3 separate regions of the Homo sapiens genome follow, and all the other regions are linked to region 2. Evidence: promoter capture Hi-C in human tissues and cell types (Jung and others, 2019). All regions are on one chromosome and are shown on one strand. The core of a region is centred on a gene start or on the middle of the fragment in contact, and the rest is flanking DNA. Distances in the headings are between cores, read along the strand shown. Region 1 holds the start of NDUFS7 (NADH:ubiquinone oxidoreductase core subunit S7). Region 2 holds the start of PTBP1 (polypyrimidine tract binding protein 1). Region 3 holds the start of RPS15 (ribosomal protein S15).

Evidence for each region. Contacts are between HindIII fragments. The study calls those that stand out against the background at their distance.
Region 1: a contact is called between the fragment with the promoter of NDUFS7 here and the fragment with the promoter of PTBP1 in region 2, in 1 of the 25 tissues and cell types used here (dorsolateral prefrontal cortex).
Region 3: the fragment with the promoter of RPS15 here is called in contact with the fragment with the promoter of PTBP1 in region 2 in 2 of the 25 tissues and cell types used here (heart left ventricle and spleen).

Annotation. Positions count from the first base shown.
Region 1 is chr19:1,382,416-1,386,248 of GRCh38, forward strand. It overlaps NDUFS7 (NADH:ubiquinone oxidoreductase core subunit S7), which reads left to right and starts at 1,492. Exons shown (of 8, transcript NM_024407.5): 1 at 1,492-1,527. The coding sequence starts at 1,512. It overlaps TRF-GAA1-6 (tRNA-Phe (anticodon GAA) 1-6), which reads right to left and starts at 1,019; the gene lies at 947-1,019. It overlaps TRN-GTT2-6 (tRNA-Asn (anticodon GTT) 2-6), which reads left to right and starts at 1,148; the gene lies at 1,148-1,221. RefSeq lists silencers at 862-991, 1,172-1,311, 1,562-1,621. The HindIII fragment of the contact is 12,722 bases long and covers 1-3,833 here.
Region 2 is chr19:795,184-799,167 of GRCh38, forward strand. It overlaps PTBP1 (polypyrimidine tract binding protein 1), which reads left to right and starts at 2,269. Exons shown (of 15, transcript NM_002819.5): 1 at 2,269-2,322. The coding sequence starts at 2,315. RefSeq lists enhancers at 1,388-2,023, 1,676-2,015, 2,222-3,107, 3,108-3,984 and silencers at 1,928-2,282, 2,046-2,395, 2,406-2,585, 2,656-2,965. The HindIII fragment of the contact is 37,831 bases long and covers 1-3,984 here.
Region 3 is chr19:1,435,659-1,439,645 of GRCh38, forward strand. It overlaps RPS15 (ribosomal protein S15), which reads left to right and starts at 2,738. Exons shown (of 4, transcript NM_001018.5): 1 at 2,738-2,770; 2 at 3,149-3,234. The coding sequence starts at 2,768. It overlaps DAZAP1 (DAZ associated protein 1), which reads left to right. Exons shown (of 12, transcript NM_018959.4): 12 at 1-26. RefSeq lists enhancers at 2,483-3,353, 2,762-2,981. The HindIII fragment of the contact is 20,902 bases long and covers 1-3,987 here.

The DNA.
Region 1 (3,833 bases), core at 242-2,741, 590 kb after region 2:
GTCTCAAGCTCCTGGCTTCAAGTGATCCTCCTGCCTCGGCTTCCTAAAGTGCTGGGATTGCAGGTGTGAGCCACCATGCTGGGCCCCTCCAATCCTTTTGAGCTGCCCAAGAACAGAGACCAGGCCTGGCTTTGCTCAGCAGTGGGTCCCCAGCCCATGGCACGAATTCAGTAAACACTTGTTGTGGTCCTCAAGGGGCCCCCAGTCTTGCTAGTCACCTGTGTTCACCTAATTTGAGCCTCTGTTTTCTTTACTTTTTCTTTTTCTTTTTTCTTTTTTTTTTTTTTTTGAGATGGAGTCTCACTCTGTCGCCCAGGCTGGAGTGCGGTGGCACGATCTCAGCTCATTGCAACCTCCGCTTCCCGGATTCAAGTGATTCTCTTGCCTCAGCCTCCCGAGTAGCTGGGATTTAGATACAGGGTTTCACCATATTGGCCAGGTTGGTTTTGAACTCCTGACCTCAGGTGATTTGCCTGCCTCAGCCTCCCAAAGTGCTGGGATTACAGGCGTGAACCACCGCACCGGCCTTTGCCTCTGTTTTTGTAATCATAAAACAGGCAGACAAAACCTCCAGTGGAATTGTGAAAATTAAATGATATGCATGCAGAAAGCGTTCTGCAAACTCTGTTTTGCTAGTTTGGGTGTTTAGTGTTAGTTTTTATATCATTAGTACTGGTTGTAAACTTATCAATTTAAGCAAGATGGAAAATCGAGGGTGTGTCAGGGAAGGGGGAAGTTTGAGCTGAAATTATGACCTCTTAGGGGTGGGAAGAGGAGGCTTTGGGGTTGTGAGGTCTGAGCCCCCTTACTTTGGGATGAGTCCACATCGCGGCGACTCCTCTGCAGAATGCGGTGATGTTGCGGTAAGGGGTCCGGGATAGCTGCGAGGCAGCTGGACCAATCCTGAACGAAAGACATCAGTGATCGCAAGAGGCGCTAAAACTTCTGCCGAAACCCGGGATCGAACCAGGGACCTTTAGATCTTCAGTCTAACGCTCTCCCAACTGAGCTATTTCGGCTGGGCGGCAGAGTCGCTCTCGCCGGGACTCCGTCCCGCGCTGCGCCTTCCCTGCGCAGGCGCAGTCGTTTCGCGTCAGCAGGCCCCACATCCTTTGTAAGGTCTCCCAGGGCGCCGGAGCGCAGTGTCGTCTCTGTGGCGCAATCGGTTAGCGCGTTCGGCTGTTAACCGAAAGGTTGGTGGTTCGAGCCCACCCAGGGACGCGTGGTGACTTTTGCCCTCCTGGAATAACAAGAAAATGAGTGTCGCCTCTGTTTTTGTCGGTCCGCCGCAGACCCGCGGCCCCCACGTGCGCACTCCGATGACCTTTCCGCCTCGGGTGATCTGGGGGTGCACGGCGCAACACGACCACGGAGGCCGAAAGCGCAGCGGAACCTCCCGGCTCCAGGTTCCGGTTTCCGCATGCGCTCCGAGCCGCTTTGGGCGGCGGCCCCGGGAACCCGGAGCGCTAAGGAGAACGGACCTCAGAGGTTGTCTGAAGGCCGAGGCCAAGATGGCGGTGCTGTCAGGTGAGCGCGGCACCGGCGGCGGGTGTGGGGCCGCGCGGGTCTGGGGCCGTGGGAGCCTCGGGTGTCGTGGTGGCGTCGGGGGTCGGTGCCGGCGTCGTGGCCGCGGTCCTCTCCGGGCTTCTCCGAGCCGGCCGCTCCTCGGGCTCCCCGCCCGGCTTGCGATGAACGGTCGCCGTTATTGCGTCCAGAGTACAGTCGGGGAAACCGAGGCCCGGTAGGTCATGACGCAAGCCTCCAGCCTCAGGAAGGCGCTCGGGGTGGAGGCTGGAGGGGCCCCATTCACGTCCCCGAGACCAGGGCACGGCCCGCGAGGCTGCTCTTGAGATGCCCTGGAGAGAGCGGGGCCTGCCTGACAGGCTGGGAAACTGAGGCCCATTGAGGGTCTTCGAGGTCACAGGGCCGGGCCTGGGAAGGAACAGGACCCAGGACATCCACGCCACCCTGCTGGACCCTCCACCTCCCTCCCCACCCCTGGGAGGTAAGGGCCTCTCGCAGAGCCTGTCCTGCTCCAGGGACTTTTTTGGGATCAGCTGAAGCCTGCGGACCTCTGCTCAGATAAAGTTATTAAATGCATGGAATAAAATCCATAGAATTGCAAGGAAATCAGTTACACGGAGAGGCAGTTATTAAAAGATTGTCTTGAAACCTGATTGGCGACTTAGTAATCTAAGTGCTTCCCTTATGAACGCGATCTAGCGGCAGGTCTAATTGCGACTGTGATTTGGAAGGAGTGAGGAGTGGAAATGAGGCTTTGATGATACGGAAACGTCTGCAGCCCCTGCACCATAGCTAGGAAACATCTGTGATTCCGCTTGGTGAAAAGTTACAGGTCCTGCTAATACTGCCGTATTTTGTTGTCTATGCTAAGAATTTTTTATTTATTTATTAAGACAGGGTCTGCCTCTGTCGCTCAGACTGGAGTGCAGTGGTGCCATCTTGGCTCATCACTGCAACCTGTGCCTCCCAGGCTCAAGCGATTCTGGCACTTCAGTGTCCTGTGTAGCTGGGACCACAGGTGTGCGCCACCATGCCTGGCTAGTTTTTGTATTTTTAGTAGAGATGGGGGTCTTGCCCTGTTGCCCAGGCTGGTCTCGAACTTCTGAGTTCAAGCAATCCTCCCACCTGAGCCTCCCAAAGTGCTGGGAGCCACGGCACCCAGCCTACGCTAAGAATTGAATGAAGGGCTAATTTTCCATAAGATGCTGGTGACAACAAAGACATATATATTTTTTTATTCCAAGCAAATTCACAGTTCTGAATCCTCACCAGGCCCCTTGTTAAGAATGCCTGGCCCACGCGCGGTGGCTCACGCCTGTAATCCCAGCACTTTGGAAGGCCAAGGTGGGCGGATCACCTGAGGTCCGGAGTTCGAGACCAGCCTGGCCAACATGGAGAAACCCCGTCTCTACTAAAAATACAAAATCAGCTGGGTGTGGTGGCGCATGCCTGTAATCGCAGCTACTGGGGGGCTGGGGCAAGAGAATCGCTTGAACCCGGGAGGCGGAGGTTGCAGTGAGCTAAGATTGCACCATTGCACTCCATCCTGGGCAACAAGAGTGAAACTCCGTCTCAAAAACAAAAACAAAAACAAACCAGCTGGGCGTGGTGGCTCAGGCCTGTAATCCCAGCACTTTGGGAGGCCGAGGTGGGCGGATCCCCTGAGTTCGGGAGTTCAAGACCAGCCTGATCAACATGGAGAAACCCTGTCTCTACTAAAAAATGCAAAATTAGCTGAGCGTGGTAGCAGGCGCCTGTAATCCCAGCTACTCGGGAGGCTGAGGCAGGAGAATAGCTTGAACCTGGGAGGTGGAGGTTGCAGTGAGCCAAGATTGTGCCGTTGCACTCCAGCCTGGGTGACAAGAGCGAAACTCCGTCTCAAAACAACAACAACAACAACAAAAACCCTGACCCAGAGGCACAGAATCCCATCACCTCAGAGGTTCTCAGAAGAGTATCTCCTCTGCTAGGAGCTCATCCAAAGTCCTGCATTTTCAGCTTGGGAAACTGACACCTGGAGTGGGGCAGCTCCCACCAGAGCCTGGGGCTGGGCAGTTAGCCTGTCTGCTGTGCCCAGCCTCAGGCATGCCAAGAAGTAGGTCACAGGCTTGTGTCCTTCAGAGAGTTGTGGCCTGGACGGGGCCATGGGAAACAGCAACCCCGGATGAGGCTAAGGCTGGGGTGAGGGAGGGGCTCAGAGGCAGGAGAAGGCCCCATGGATCGCTGCATTCAGGGGCATCAAACCCTGGCCCTGGCCCCTGGAGGCTGCCCACAGCCTCTCCATCGGGCCTCACCTCACCCACAGCGAC
Region 2 (3,984 bases), core at 1,019-3,518:
TTTCAGGGCGGGGCCCATCCCAGGCACTCCGCGAACAGACAGAAGCGGCTGGTTCTGGTGGTGTGAGGATGGGGGTCTCCAGGGGAGCAAATCCACAGTAACACACTGGGCTTCTCCCAGATCCACCGGACATTCCTGATGAGTGACCCTGGCTGCAGATGGCTCTTGGTGAGTCTCCGTTGACCGGGTGGTTCGGGCCAAAGGACCTTGCCGTGCGATGCCTCCATGGAGCTCGGCGGCCACCCCTAATCCGGGCTGGAATCCTCTGGCACCAGACGCCCGGCGGGGCTCCAAGGCTCCTGGGCCCACGCCAGGCCCCGGCCTGAAACGCAGCACTGCTGGAATAAAACACGCCAGAGAAGCAGGGCGCTAGGCTCGCCTGGATTTGGGGAAACGAGAATTGTCATGTCTTCTCCCTCCGTAGGTTGGTGTTAATGAAAAACCCCCTTTTCAGCATGGACTAAATCCCGCTAATTCTATTTAGGGAGCAGTGTCTACTCCGGGCCGGGAACTGCTCCGGTTTCCAACCGCAGCCTCCCGTGAGGGTCCCAGTGTGGAGGGCCGGGGTCATCCCCTCACTCTGGGATGGCTCCCAACCCGCTGACCTGGCCTCCCCGTCAGGCACCCTCACAGCTCTGTCAGACTCTTCATGTGATCAGCGCTCCTGGGAACATTAGTTTAGGGTGTTTTCTGCTGCTGGGATGGTGGCCCGGGAGGGACCCTCCTGGTGACCCTGCTGGGCCTGGCCCTCAGTTTCCCCAGCCGTAGGCTGGCAGCCTCGAACTGTACGAGCTCCAGGCCACAGTTTCCCCAGCTGTAGGTCAGTGGGCCAGGGACTGTAGGGGGCTCGGGCCTCAGTTTCCCCAGCTGTAGGCGGGTGGCTTGGGCCTCAGTTTCCCCACCTGTAGGCGGGCGGCCTTGGATTGTATGGAGCCCGGGCCTCAGTTTCTCCAGCTGTAGGCGGATGGCCGTGGACTGTGTGTGGCCTGGGCCTCAGTTTCCCCCGCTGTAGGCAGATGGCCGTGGACTGTGTGTGGCTTTGGCCTCAGTTTCCCCAGCTGTAGGCGGATGGCCGTGGACTGTGTGTGGCCCGGACCTCAGCTTCCCCAGCTTTAGGCGGTTGGCCGCGGACTGTGCAAAGTCCAGGCCTCAGTTTCCCCAGCTGTAAGCGGGCGGCCGCCCACTGTACAAGGTCCAGGCCTCAGTTTCCCCAGCTGTAGGTGAGAGGCCGCGGACTGTACAAGGTCCAGGCCTCAGTTTCCCCAGCTGTAGGCGGGCGGCCAAGGACTGCAAGGTCCAGGCCTCAGTTTCCCCACCTGTAGGCGGGCGGCCGCGGACTGTACAAGGTCCAGGCCTCAGTTTCCCCAGCTGTAGGTGAGAGGCCGCGGACTGTACAAGGTCCAGGCCTCAGTTTCCCCAGCTGTAGGCGGGCGGCCGCCTACTGTATAAGGTCCAGGCCTCAGTTTCCCCAGCTGTAGGCGGGCGGCCGCGGACTGTACAAGGTCCAGGCCTCAGTTTTCCCAGCTGTAGGCAGCCGGCCGCGGACTGTGCGGGGCCCGGACCTCAGTTTCCCTATCTCCGCAGTCGGGATTCGCTGTTCCGGGGCGAACAAAGAACGGTCGGGGGTGACCCCGGATCATGGCGCGCCCGCAGTATCTGTGGCCACTGTGGAAACAGCCCTGGCGTGTCCGGGACGCGACGCGGCCTTTCCCTCCCCGCGCGATCACCCAGATGTGAGCGCTCAGTTTGAATCGGACTTTTTGGCCATGTGCCCACAACCAACATGGAGCCCTGAGGGTTTCCTGCCCGACTCCAAGATGGCGATGCGACTCCCTTTGCCCTCACGGCCCAGGCGGGCGGGTCCTGCCCACTTGCAAGATGGCGGCAGCCTGGGCAAAGCACGCTTCCCGCCGCCTGACTCGCCACGTACCCACTCTCAAGATGGCGTCTCCCGCAAAGCCACGCGCCAGCTGACTGGCTCAGACGCCGTCACGTGATCCCATTTTCTCCCCCTCCCCCGACTACACAAGCCGTTTCCGCCTTCGGCCTTGAGGAATAACCGCCTCCCCCAATAGGCGCCTGCGATTTCTCTGGGTCCCGCCCCCGGGCGGCCTTCTGGCCAGTGGGAGGTGCTGGCGGGGGCCCGCGGGGCTCTCCCCGCCCCCTGGCTGCAGCGGGAGCCAATGGGCAGCGCGCGCGGGGGACGTGTGCGGGCGTCTCCGCCATTTTGTGAGTCTATAACTCGGAGCCGTTGGGTCGGTTCCTGCTATTCCGGCGCCTCCACTCCGTCCCCCGCGGGTCTGCTCTGTGTGCCATGGACGGGTGAGTCGCACGTCGCCCCGCGCCCCACCGCCCTCCCCGCGCCGCAGCCCTGCCCCCGCCGCCGCGCCGGCCTCCCCGGGGCCGATCTCGCCCCCTCTCGGGCGGGAGGGGGCGGCGGGCTCTCCCCTTCCTCTCCGCGTGGCGGGCGCGGGTGCGGGGCGGGTCAGGGGCTTCCCGGGGGTCTGGCCGCGTCCCCATCCCCCGTCCGGCCCGCTTCCGGCCCCCGCGCGCCCCGTCCCTAGCGCACGCGGCCTCCCGCGCCCCTCCCCCTCCGCGCGCGTCCCCGCACTTCGCCTTTGCCCCGCCTCGGCGGCGCGCGGCCCTTCCCGCTTCCCGTCCGGCCCTCGCGCGCCCGGATGGCCCTTCCCGCCTCCCGTCCGCTCCCCTCGTGCGCCTGCGTAGCCCGTCGCGCGTCCCCGTTGGCCCCAGCGCGCGTGCGCGGCCGCCATCGGGGGCGCGCGCCTTTCCCGCCGCCCGGACTCTGCCCCCGGCGCAGCCCCGGAAGCGCAGGCGGGGCTGGGGCGGCCGCCGGGAGGGAAAGCTGGCGCCGGGGCCTCGCCGCGGGCCCGAGTCTCTGCGCTCCCCGCCCTACCCCTGCCCCCCGTGCGCCCCGGGCCGCGGCCAAGGGGTTTCGGTGATCTCGGGAGAGAAGCGGCCGCCCCGAGGGTCTGTCCTCCGCCCCGGGGCCGGAGGGGCCTCTCCAGGGACCCCCGCGGGCGCCGTCATGGGGAGGGGCCTTCCCGGCTCTCGGGCCGGGGCAGCCTTTCCGGGCGGCTTTGCTGGGCGGGCTTCCCTTGGGAGAGGTGGGAGCCCCCTCCAGAAAGGCCGTGTCCCGCCGAGCGCTTCCTGCGCGAGGCCCTCCCTGGGAATAGGAAGCGGGAGAGGCTGGAGATGTTTCGCATTCTTTCCGTTTTCCTGAGAAGTTTTTCTTGGGTTCAGTCACTTTTAAAAGTCTGTTAAACGTGGTCCGTGCAGTCTGTGGTGTCAGAAGAGGCGCAGCCCTAGAGTGGGTCTGGACCCCTTAGCATGCGTGCGGGCAGGTGGGTCCTGCAGACGGCGAGACGAGGGCTCCCCGCTCTCGGACCCAGCACCGCGGGCTCGGGGGCCGCGCACTCGCCTCCCGGAGTGAGGCAGGAGGCCCGGAGGCTGCCCTTCCGACGGACGCTCCGAGTCACTTAGGGCCTCGCCGGGAGTTGCAGTGGCCGGGAGAAGCCGTGGGGAGCTCACTGTTGGGTCAGGACCTGGCCGGGGCTGAAGGGAGGGCCTCGGACAGTCCGGCTTTCTATCCACCTTCCCCCCGGGGTGTCCCGAGGAGGGAGAGTCGGGTCGGGCGGGGCTCGGGTTGATCAGTAACTGAGGCTGTGTTCTGGTCGGTCTGTTAATTTTTATTGACGGTTTCCACGGCCGCCTCCTGCTCTCCTCGGTGGATCGGGCTCCACTCTGCTGAGAGGCACCCTCTTGGGGGCCCACCCCTACCCGGGTGGAAGCTCTGGCCCAGGCCTGTGAGTTTGCCAGTTTCAGCCTCTCCGAGGCGTTTCCAACTTACTGGAAAGCACACAGCAGCCCTTGAACCCTCTCAGCGGCATCTAGCATTCCTCGGGGCTTCCGATGGGGGTGTCTTTGTCTTGGAACGTGTGGGGCCTGGTCCAGAGGTGGGGCCTG
Region 3 (3,987 bases), core at 1,488-3,987, 640 kb after region 2:
AAAGAGAAGTGCGTTTGGATTAGAAACCACTTTGTGTCCGTTTTTTCCCTCCTTGGTCTTGGCCTGTGCCTACCCTTCCAGTGCCTAGGAAAGGTCTGAAACGCGACGGAGGCGCCCTCGCCCTCCCCTTGGCTCTTGGTGGTCTCAGCAACCCCGAGGGCTTCAGGGCAGAGGCTGAGTGGCGAGCTGGGCCCATCCCTCAGTGGGTCTTGGGATGCTGTGACTTTGAGGATGTGGCCACCACCAGTTTTCTCGGGGAATGTGGGCTCCAGGCTTTTCCCATCTCAAGACCTTTAATCATATCTTTTGCCATGGAAGGTGACATATCCCCAGGTTCTGGGGATTAGGACAGGGGCATCTTTGGAAAGGGATACTCTGTCACTGTGGCAGGGAAGGCGAGACTTAAAAAGGGCCGGGCGCGGTGGCTCACGACTGTAATCCCAGCACTTTGGGAGGCCGAGGCGGGCGGATCACCTGAGGTCGGGAGTTCGAGACCAGCCTGACCAACATGGAGAAACCCCGTCTCTACTAAAAATACAAAAATTAACCGGGTGTGGTGGTGCATGCCTGTAATCCCAGCTACTTGGGAGGCTGAGGCAGAAGAATCGCTTGAACCTGGGAGGCGGAGCTTGCAGTGAGCCGAGATTGCGCCATTGCACTCCAGCCTGGGCAACAAGAGCGAAACTCCGTCTCAAAAAACAAAACAAGAAAAAAAAAGGACCATGAAGTCCCAAACTGGAAGCCTACAGCGTGCCAGGCGTGAGACTGTTCAGGCGACAGCCAGAACCACCCCCCCCCGCCCCAGTTCATATTTTGGGGACAGGGAAGGTTTGACTTAGTTTGGAGAGAACCAAGAGAAGGGGTACCCCCAACATCCCTGTGCAGTGCAGTTTCCTCACTGAGACAGTACCCCTCAACGCCTCAGCCCAGGAAGCCAGCTCCATTCCCTGCCGTCAGAGCCTTCTCCCATGTCCTCAGGAGCTGCTGCCCCAGCTCCCAGGAGGGCCAGGCGGGGGCGGCTGTCTATCCACACCACAGGTCATCATGGTGTTGAGTGTCAGCCCCTCCCGTTACATTAGCTCCCCCAGCCAAAGAGCAGCACTCACAAAATCAGCTTTCCAGCCAGGACACTCTGCTGCAGGAAAATGGGTAACATGGACGGGCCCGACACATAGGTCCTGTGCTCCTCGGGACGGAGACTCAGCCCTCCCTGAGTACAGTGTAATTGGCTTCCCTTGGGACTGTGGGGACGGCTGGGGAGAGCTCAGCTCCCTGGACAGTGCCACAGCTAAGCTCGGGTTCCCAGAGGTTTTGTGCTTTTTTTTTTTCTTTTTCTTTTTTTTTTTTTTTTTTTTTTTTGAGAAGGAGTCTCTGTCGCCCAGGCTGGAGTGCAGTGGTGCGATCTCAGCTCACTGCAACCTCCGCCTCCCGGGTTCAAGCGGTTCTCCTGCCTCAGCCTCCCAAGGAGCTGGGATTACAGGCACCCACCACCACGCCTGGCTAATTTTTTGTATTTTTAGTAGAGTTAGGGTTGGTCAGCTTGGTCTTGAACTCTTGACCTCAGGTGATCCGCCCGCCTCGGCCTCCCAAAGTGCTGGAATTACAAGCATAAGCCACCACGCCCAGCCAGGTGCCACATCCATAGTTAATAGTCACCTTCAACTTTATACTTAATTCCAGTAAGATACAGAAACATCACTCCTAGGCCAGGCGCGGTGGCTCACGCCTGTAATCCCAGCACTTTGGGAGGCCAAAGCGGGTGGATCACCTGAGGTCAGGAGTTCGAGACCAACATGGCCTGGCCAACATGGAGAAACCGTGTCTTTACTAAAAATACAAAATTAGCCGGGCACGGTAACAGGTGCCTGTAATCCCAGCTACTTGGGAGGCTGAGGCAGGAGAATCGCTTGAACCCAGGAGGCAGAGGTTGCAGTGAGCCGAGATCACACCACTGCACTCCAGCCAGGGCAACAAGAGTGAAACTCTGTCTCAAAAAAAAAAAAAAGTCACTCCTACATAGTTCTAGTTACTCCTTCTCTTTGAGCTATCATTATTCACATTACATTTACATATCTTAACAAACCCAGTGATATTCCTAACTTTATTTTTGAGGCAGGGTCTTGCTCTGTCGCCCAGGCTGGAGTGCCGTTGGCGCGATCACGGCTCACTGCAGCCTTGACCTCCTGGGCTGAAGGCTCAGCCTCCCGAGTAGCTGGGAATTTTTTGTACTTTTTATTCTTTTATGTCCGTGTGTACACAAATTTTTGTATTTTTTTGTAGAGAGGCAGTCTCACTGTGTTGTCCTTACTAACTTTATATACAAAATTTTATCTGTTAAAGCCGGAATGGTTCTTTTCAGCGAGGCCCTGTCCCTGCTCCAGTATCTGTAATGAATTCTCGTGTTCCTCCCACAGTGGGACCTGAACCGCCAAACCGCACCTACGAGCAAACGGTAGGCGCTCCATAAATACTTGTTGATGTGGGTGCCATCGTGTAGATGACGGAGCACGAACCCGAGGCTCAGACAGGGGCGGCGACTTGTCCAAAGTCCCACTCCGTGGAGGAAGCGGCTCTGCAGACCTCAGGCGGCGGCTGCTCTAATCCCTGCAGCCTGTGTTTTGCCCTCCAGACGGCAGAGGGCGCGTGTTCGCCGCCGGGAAAGCGGAAGCGCGTGTGCGCGCACGGCCGAGGGGGCGGGACATGCCGGCAGTCTCGCGATAACTGCGCAGGCGCGGACCAAAGCGATCTCTTCTGAGGATCCGGCAAGATGGTGAGTGTTGCGATTTGGCGCGTCTCTGCCGGGCCTATCCGGCTCCATCCAACCTCTGACCGTCTCGCGGGGGCCGCAGTTCGTCCCCGCGGCTACGGCGGCTTGCTCCCGACCCTGCAGGCGGCTGGATGTTGGGGCGAGGGGCGGACTTGGTGGGTGTCGGGACGACGCGGGGCTGGGAAGGCCTGTCCGGGCCTTCATGTCCGGGTCCTCGTAACCCGGAGCCGCGAGTGATCCCCGGGGACGGGTCGAAGCGGTGTGTCCCTGTCGGGCTTCTGTCCCCGGCGGCGCCGCGCGTCTTCCGCGGTGTCCTCGGGCCCGGTGGCCCCGGGAGATGGGTGTCGGGATCCCGCTGACGCCCGATCCGCGCCCGCACAGGCAGAAGTAGAGCAGAAGAAGAAGCGGACCTTCCGCAAGTTCACCTACCGCGGCGTGGACCTCGACCAGCTGCTGGACATGTCCTAGTAAGGGCGGCCGCGGGGGTCGCGGGCAGGGGCTGGGCCAGCGGTGGGGCTTGTCCGGGTGAGGGCGGCGGGGCGGGGGTCCAAGCGCCTCTGCGGCGGTGGGCGGGCACGGTCTCCGCGCGGGTTTGGAACTGAGTGTGGTCTTGCGCCCAGAAAACTGTCCAGAGACGTTGAGGTTTTTGCTTATTTGCAACCTGCCCCCCGTTGTTCACTTTTCCGCGGCTTAGTTGGAAGGTGTAGCCCCTGTCTGTAGCCCACGTGACTTAGAATAAGGGGCTGCGTTAGACTCCTTAGATTTTAAGGGCGGTGGAGGTCGCTGGGTCCTTTCCAGGCAGGGTGGTGGTGGGCATCTGGCTTGCGCTTTTATTTTTTAATTTTTGATTATTTTGAGGCGGAGTCTCATCCTGTCGCCCAGGCTGGAGTGCAATGGCTCCGTCCCAGCTCACTGCAGCCTCCCACTCCCGGGTTCAAGCGATTCTCTTGCCTCAGCCTCTCGAGTAGCTGGGATTAGAGGGCCCCCCCACCACGTCCGGCTAATTTTTGTATTTTTAGTAGAGACGAGTTTCAGTGTTGCCCAGGCTGGTCTCAAACTCCTGACCTCAGGTGATCCACCTGCCTCGGCCTCCCAAAGTGCTGGGATTACAGGCGTGAACACCGCGCCCGACCTTGATTTTTGATTATTTGTGGAAACAGCGTTTCTCTGTGTCGTCCAGGTTGGTCTTGAACTCCTGGGCTCAAGCGACCCTCCCGCCT